2 separate regions of the Homo sapiens genome follow, and region 1 is linked to region 2. The links are contacts of gene promoters, found by promoter capture Hi-C in blood cells and fetal thymus (Javierre and others, 2016). All regions are on one chromosome and are shown on one strand. Each heading gives the region's core, a stretch centred on a gene start or on the middle of the fragment in contact. The rest is flanking DNA. Distances are from core to core; before and after follow the strand shown.

Region 1 (3,499 bases), core at 4-2,503, 260 kb before region 2:
TTAGAAAACATATGAAAATAGCTAATACATCAGAAGAAAGACATCCAATCTGTTTTTTATTTTATTTTTTTACACAGGGTCTTGCTCTGTGGTCCAGGCTGAAGTGCAGTGGCATGATCATCACTCACTACAGCCACAACCTCCTGGTCTCAAGTGATCCTCCTGCCTCACTCAGCCTCCCGAGTAGCTGGGACTACAGGCATGCACCACCACATCCGGCTAATTTAGAGAAGTTTTTTTTTGTATAGACAGGGTCGTAGTATGTTGTCTAGGCTGGTCTCAAACTCCTGAGCTCAAGTGATCCTCCCACCCTGGCCTCCCAAAGACCCAAAGACTACAGACCTGAGCCACCATGCCCACCTGTTTTCTTGACAGGACTTGCATATGACAAGCTCTCTGCTTCTCCTCACCTATGCATTGCAAGCCAGGTCAGAGGCAGGTTAAACACCTTAAGGACATGTTAGGACAAGTGGCATACAAGGGAAAAAAACCCGTTCATTTAAGTTACAGAAACAGAAAAAAAAAAACTGGCTTATTCCCACACTTACTCTACTCAAAGCTTTGAGAAGACTAATTTTGGCATCCTCTGGCTAAATACAAAACAACAAAACAAAACAAGGCAAACTCTTTCAGCAAGAGCTGTGGGGGAAGGGACTATAAGGGACACACACAACTGACAGGCAAAAGCTCTGAGCACGTGATTGCTAAGTTTAATTCAACTGTTACACCCCATTCTGCCTTGTAAAAATAACAAAACGCTCCTATCAAAATGACATTGTGATGTGAGTACAGGCTTTTTGTTTTGGTACAGCTCTAAAAAATGTTGGCACCGAATGCACTTAAGAAAAGTGTTAAGGCTTAATACAAATACAGAGACGAGTCATTTCTCAATGCAGCTTAGAGGGTGAGAACAGGATGCTAGGTTTTTAAATCTTCCAAATACAGGCAGTCCCCAACGTACAGACATACAGGACACCTCCCAAATGTAAACGACAGCCACACAGCAGGGCTTGCATGCGCAGGAACTCTTCTTCTCCCAGTGAGCAGACTAAGCACTCTGAATCCCACCCCACTGCCTCGCAGAGGGAAAGAAGGCAGGACAGATGCAAGAAGAGTAATGTCAGGGGCTCCATCACAGCTGCCCAGGGGCTTCTGCTGTAGTTCATATTTTCCTCATTCCCATCTCTGGTTTCTCCCATAACCCAGAAGTCCCTGCCAGGGGCGGAAGTAAAGAGCTTTTCCTCTCACCTAGCGGACTGCAAGGGCTGGGAGAATCACAGGGCCCAGTACCGTCACGTCCTATTTCTTCCTGGCAATCTGATTTGGAATTCGTGAATCATTTTCTCAATAAAAAAACAGAAGTTATAAATGGTAGTTCATTTCCACCATTAAACTGTTTCCTTTCAAGTTGCATCAATGACTTTGAAGCACAAACCACCTGAAGTGTGTGTAGAGTCACACAGAGTGTTTCTTGGCTCCAAAGTCTACAGGCAATCAAAAGGGGGAAGCTGTCTTTGGTTGACAAAGCCTTGTGCAGACCCCAGTGTGCCAGGTGTAGGAAGGGGAGCTTGGCAGGCGGCTCCTGCAGGCACTTAAGCAGTGAGGCAGCATGAGCCTGACTGAACATGGCTGCTGCTTTTCTGAAGTTTAATAATGATGATGTTTCTAGCACCAAGCATTAGCTTTGTAGGCACTCAGAGCAAAGCTGCTGCCGCCACCCAGACGTTCTCCTCTGTTAACAGATGCCCACCCAAGGGCAGCATGAGAACTGGGCCTGCAGCCCTTGAGGGGGATGGGCAGAGGCTTCTGCCTGAAGATGAAAGCACCACCACCTTTGCCATCCCATTAGCTGAGTGAGCAAAGCTCAGGGAATTGGACAGGTGTGACTTTGCTACTGAACTCCTTCATCTCCTGGCCTAAGGTCTCTAGTCTCTTCTGGAAGCTTGTTTGTGAGTTAGATCCAGAAGTTCTATAAAGCTTTGTAGAGGGTGGCCTCCACAGCTCTTCTTCCTCTTTGGTGTACCTGAACAATTGACTTTTTTCTGGAAAGGTGTCAGAAACAGACCAGAGTCAACAATCATTTATGTAAAGCTGGTATTTAAAATTTAGCTTTTTAGATATTATTAAAGAATCCAAACCTAAGAACCCAAGGTTCCCAAGCATCTCTTCTTTCCACCAACCAATTAAGGAATAAAGAAAGACACAGGAAGAATTTAAACAAGCCACTTACTCGGAAATATCTGAATAGATTTTTAAAGTCCCGCAGAGGTCAGCGGGCCTCATTTATGGGAAGAACTGTGACTTGTGAAGGGAACTGTCTACATCACTGGAGAACAACAAACGCCTAAACTTAAGGCTGATGAGAGGAAAAAAGCAAGAATTCACAAGCAAAACTGGCATGTAAAGGACCAAGACCAGCCCTGTGTGAAAGACAGGCAGATTCCAACATGAGATCAGATCAGGCCGAGGTTTCAGATGGCAGGAACTGGGCACTTCAGAGGGTCAGGGCACCAAAACAATCTTCCATGAAGTAGAAGACGGATAACTATTATTATTTGGTTTTTTGAAAGCTGCCGAGGAAAAGCAATCAAGATGTTTCAAGAAAAGACTACAGAACAATATGCTGGGGGTAAAATGAAGTGGGGATGCTGGATTTAGCAGCCGTGATCTCCAGAATGGAAGCGGTTCTGCTAAGAGGTCAATATACTGTTAGTGTTTCTGCTTACGCCTCCTCCATCCCACAGCAGCAGTGGACAGGCTGTTTTGGTTTCTTTCAGTCATTCCTAGACATCCAATCAGCTGGCGGGCTGTTGATCCAAGGACCATGCCCTGCCCCACCTCCCCACCCTCACCCCCCTTCCAGTTCCTCTCAAACCTGGACTACACATGAGTGATGGCCAGGGGTGCCCCATTTCATCCCCACAGAGGCATCTCCCAGCCATCTGGAAGGCACGGGTCTCCAAGCAGCTGTCATGACGGCCAGGAGACGCTGAGCAGCCAGGCTCACATAAGACTAACCCTCTTCCCACCCCGCTCATTTGGGCAAAAGGAAATGAAAACATGGCTACCCTATCTCTTGAGTTTCTGGTCTGGCTCCGGGTGGAGCAGTGGCTTCTCTTAGTAGAAGGAGATGCTGGATTTGCCTCCCGGTGGGTTCAGGACCTTGTTGTGAGAGCGAGGCCGCGGCCCCAGCCGGGGCTCATGGCTGTCGACTGTGGGCATGGGCTCCTGCTCCTTGGCGGGGCCTGCTTTTCTGGCGCTGCCTTTCTCACCTGGCTCTGCTCCAGCCGGGATGCTCCTTGCAGCTGTGGGACACAAAGTTAGAACAACATCCCATTAGAGGCAACCCATGACCCTGACAGGCAGGCTGTGGAAATAAAAAGTGTGTCATAGAGCAACCTGCAAGAAATTCATGCTGTAACTGGGAAAGAGAAGACAATATAGACAGGCTTTTCATCTGGTACCAAAACAACTCACTGTAATTAGCAGATGCAGTTTT
Region 2 (3,657 bases), core at 1-2,500:
GGGAAGGCAGGTCTTCCCCTAGCACATGGGGACCCCGGCCTCGAGGGTGACCTCCCTACCCCGCCCCTGCCAGCCACCAAGCGCAGGTGCAGCGGGGGCCAGACTCCTGCCGGCCTCAGAGGACACCTGGCCCAGCACAGGCAGCTAGAAGGGCCGGTGGGCACCGGGGCCGGGAAGCCCCCACCTCACCACCTGAGGGCCCCTGGGAGGCTCCTCTGGCCTGGCTGGGCTGGGTCTGGGGCCGCCACAGGCCCCTCACGGGGCGGCAGAGGCAACTTCAGTGTCCCTGTTAGAGCAACACGGGTCCCTCCGTGGGGGGCTGGGTGCGGCCCCCTGCCGTGTATTTCCTCCCCAGGGAGTGGGGCCTCCCCGGGAGCTGACGCCACCACCCTGCTTAGCCCTCACAGGGCCCCAAGGTGTCCGAGTGTGTTGGGTCTGAACGCGAAATAAAGAAATCCTCTCAGCCCGCCTTTGCCAGCGTCGTCCCTCCCACCCCACCCAGACCACGTCCAACAGCCTGGGACTTTCGGGACCCTGGGGTCGGGGCACCGTGTGGAGTGAGAAAGGCGTGAAAGACAGCGGCTGCGGCCACCCAGGGCACCAGCCACATCCTCTTCCTCGTCCCCGCCCCTCAGCCTCCCTCCTCTGGCTCCTGGCTGGTGGGTCTGGGGGCAAGGCAGAGGCGCTCCAGGTGGAGGGGGGCGGGCCGGGGTGCCCACGCTGGGGTGACGCAAGAAGAAAACTCCCGGGCCTCAGAGTCGGCGCCGGAAACCTAGGTCTGGGTTTCCCTCGTGGTGGTTGTGTACTGAGGACCTGGAAGTGATCATATTTTGGATATATTCGGTTAAATAAAATCAGCGGTTAGGATTCACATCGCTGCTTCTTGCCTTTTAATGGGGCTGCTGAGCAAGATGGGTTCCCGTGGAGCCCGGCTGTGCCCCTCACCCCGATGGCGCTGCCCAGGCCTCGGGCTCCGCTCGGACGTGGGCCTGGCTGTGTCCGGGGTGTCCTGGGGCTCTCGGCCTCCCTGCTCCCAGCGTCCCTCCCGGCGTGCCCAGGCCTCGTCAGGGCCTCCTTCCCCTCCCTCGGCAGCTGAAGAAGTCCCCTTTGCCAGAGGACACGTGTCTGCGCCCTCTCGGGAGTGGGGCCCCTCAGATCCATCCAGAAGCAGGCAGTTGGGGGGCCCTGCGGGAGTGGGAGAGCTGAGGGCTAGAGTTCCATTGGCAGTTGGGCTGTGAAGCCGTGAGGTTCTGGGGAGAGAAGGAAGGTTCTGGAACGGCCCCGCTGCCCCACACCTGCCTCCCTGGGGACCCTGAGAAGGCAGCCAGACGAGGGCAGCAGCTCGTCCCTCAAGGCCCAGAGCTCTCACGGGACTTCCTCTGGCTCCTGACCCCCCTGGCCTGTGCCCAGCTCTGGGCAACCTCAGAGGCCCCAAGGCCCAAGCTACAGCCGAGGGCAGGGTGGCCGGTGCAGCCCAGCAGCCATGTCAGGTGACCAGAGCGGAGGAGCGGGGCCCAGGGAGGGGCTTGCCACAGGTGTGAGGGTGGGGACCGCTCTGCTTCTGACCCCGGGCTCCCTCCAGCTCGCTTGTTCCTGCCGCCCAGTGCTGTGTGTCTTCAGGCAGGGCCCTGGACTTGTCTGAGCCAAGCCCGTCTGGATCCTGTGTGACCCAAGGAGACGCGTTGAGCTCTGGGTGGTGGGCGAGGGTCCTGCGGGGGTTTGGGGCCTTGTTCCCGTAAGCTCCAGTGGGGGCCGGGCCCCAAGGGGCAAGCTCCCAAGATGCCTCCTTGTAGAGTTGGCTGACAGTGGACCCTCAGGGGCATCGGCCCCTTCCCAGCTGAGAGCCGTCACCCTGGAAGACCTGGGGCTCCTCCTGGCAGGAGGCCTGGCCAGCCCCGAGCCCTTGAGCCTGGAGGAGCTCTCGGAGAGGTATGAGTCCAGCCATCCGACATCCACGGCCTCTGTCCCCGAGCAGGACACCGCCAAGCACTGGAACCAGCTGGAGCAGTGGTGAGCCCTGCAGGGGGTGCTGGCGGGGGAGGACCACGTCGCCGCCGCCTCCGCCTCCACGGCGGGCACCGCCAGACTCGCCCACTCTCGCCCCGGCCAGGGTGGTGGAGCTGCAGGCCGAGGTGGCCTGCCTGCGGGAGCACAAGCAGCGCTGTGAGCGCGCCACGCGGAGCCTGCTGCGGGAGCTGCTCCAGGTGCGGGCCCGCGTGCAGCTGCAGGGCTCAGAGCTGAGGCAGTTGCAGCAGGAGGCGCGGCCGGCAGCCCAGGCCCCCGAAAAGGAGGCGCCGGAGGTGAGCGGCTCCCCCACCCACAGGTCGAGCTGCCCCTTTCCTGGGTGTTGGGGGCAGCTGCTTCTGGGCCTGGAGCCCAGCTCACCCCTGCTGCCCAGGCCCAGAGCTCCCAGGGGCCAGTGGTGCCGGAGCTGGGTGGACTCCAGGGGCAGGTGCCAGACCCGGGCCTAGGTCCAGCCCACAGCCTCCTCTTCCTCCTCGCAGTTCTCTGGTCTCCAGAACCAGATGCAGGCCCTGGACAAAAGGTACCCCCCACACACCTAGGGGCACAGGCCCAGGGCGGGGAGGTGGTGGCGAGAAAGCAGCGGCAGGTGTGGTGGGGGGTCCACATCTCCCGCTGGGTGTCGCTGGAGTGGGGGATACACATCCAGGTCCAGCTAGAAAAGGCCGGGTTTGTACGTGCCTGGGCGGCCTTCAGAGGCCCAGGAAAGCCATGGGAGGTGGCCACAGGGGCCCCTTGGCCAGACCCCCAGCCCGCCGAGGCTGCTCAGCCCGCCTGGGCCTCTCGGGAATGGCTTGTTGTGTCCCAGGCTGGTGGAGGTCCGGGAAGCCTTGACCCGGCTCAGGAGGAGGCAGGTGCAACAGGAGGCGGAGAGAAGGGGCGCCGAGCAAGAGGCCGGCCTCAGGTGGGCGCCCACCGCCCGTGGCTGGCTCCGGAGCTTGCGTGGGGTCATTTGAGAGTCCCTGGCTGAGCCAAGACACGGGTCCCCCTGCCGTGTGTCCCCAGTAACCCGGCGGGGCACCGCCCTCGGTGCCAAGCGTGCTGGGAAGCCTGGGCCCGCTGCGGACCCTCTGTGGGGAAGAGACTCGCAGCAGCCCTTCCCTGCCACCGGTGCTGTGTTTCCCATTCCTCTGTTTTCTGGTGGGGCAGGGGGCGGGGGTCGTACACCTCCTGCCTGGCCAGCCTGTGGGTCAGCCTCACCCTGCTGGGCCCTCCGGCCAGCTGGGCTGGTGTGACCACAGCCGACTTCTCTAGACTGGCCAAGCTGACCGACTTGCTGCAGCAGGAGGAGCAGGGCCGGGAGGTGGCCTGCGGCGCCCTGCAGAAGAACCAAGAGGACAGCAGCCGGAGGGTGGACCTGGAGGTGGCCAGAATGCAGGTACCACCAGGCCCAGGCTTCAGGGGGGCCGCCCAGAGGGCCGAGGAGGAGACCCTAACCCTCTCGGCCTGTGCCATCCGATACAGCGGCCGTTCACCATGTATCTGTGTCCACTGAAATCAGCTATAGTTGTAGACAATGTAAAACTCAATTCCTCAGCCGCACATGCCCCATTTCAAAAGTTCAGGTTGTTTGGGCACGGTGGCTCACGCCTGTAATCCCAGCACTTTGGGAGGCTGAGGCGGGCAGATCACAAG

What was found. Contacts are between HindIII fragments. The CHiCAGO score rates a contact against its expected background, and 5 or more counts as called.
Region 1: a fragment that was not itself captured here is called in contact with the fragment with the promoter of CCDC154 in region 2 in 1 of 17 cell types (endothelial precursors); the score reaches 5.9 in endothelial precursors.

What each region holds. Positions count from the first base shown.
Region 1 is chr16:1,698,617-1,702,115 of GRCh38, reverse strand. It overlaps JPT2 (Jupiter microtubule associated homolog 2), which reads right to left. Exons shown (of 5, transcript NM_144570.3): 5 at 30-3,305. The coding sequence ends at 3,118. Among named protein-coding and RNA genes, the nearest start is that of MAPK8IP3, 5.8 kb to the left of the region's middle. The HindIII fragment of the contact is 1,383 bases long and covers 562-1,944 here.
Region 2 is chr16:1,442,149-1,445,805 of GRCh38, reverse strand. CCDC154 (coiled-coil domain containing 154) reads left to right here and starts at 1,250. Exons shown (of 17, transcript NM_001143980.3): 1 at 1,250-1,490; 2 at 1,794-2,010; 3 at 2,111-2,300; 4 at 2,505-2,545; 5 at 2,831-2,926; 6 at 3,277-3,400. The coding sequence starts at 1,484. CLCN7 (chloride voltage-gated channel 7) reads left to right here. Exons shown (of 25, transcript NM_001287.6): 25 at 1-871. The HindIII fragment of the contact is 15,368 bases long and covers 1-3,657 here.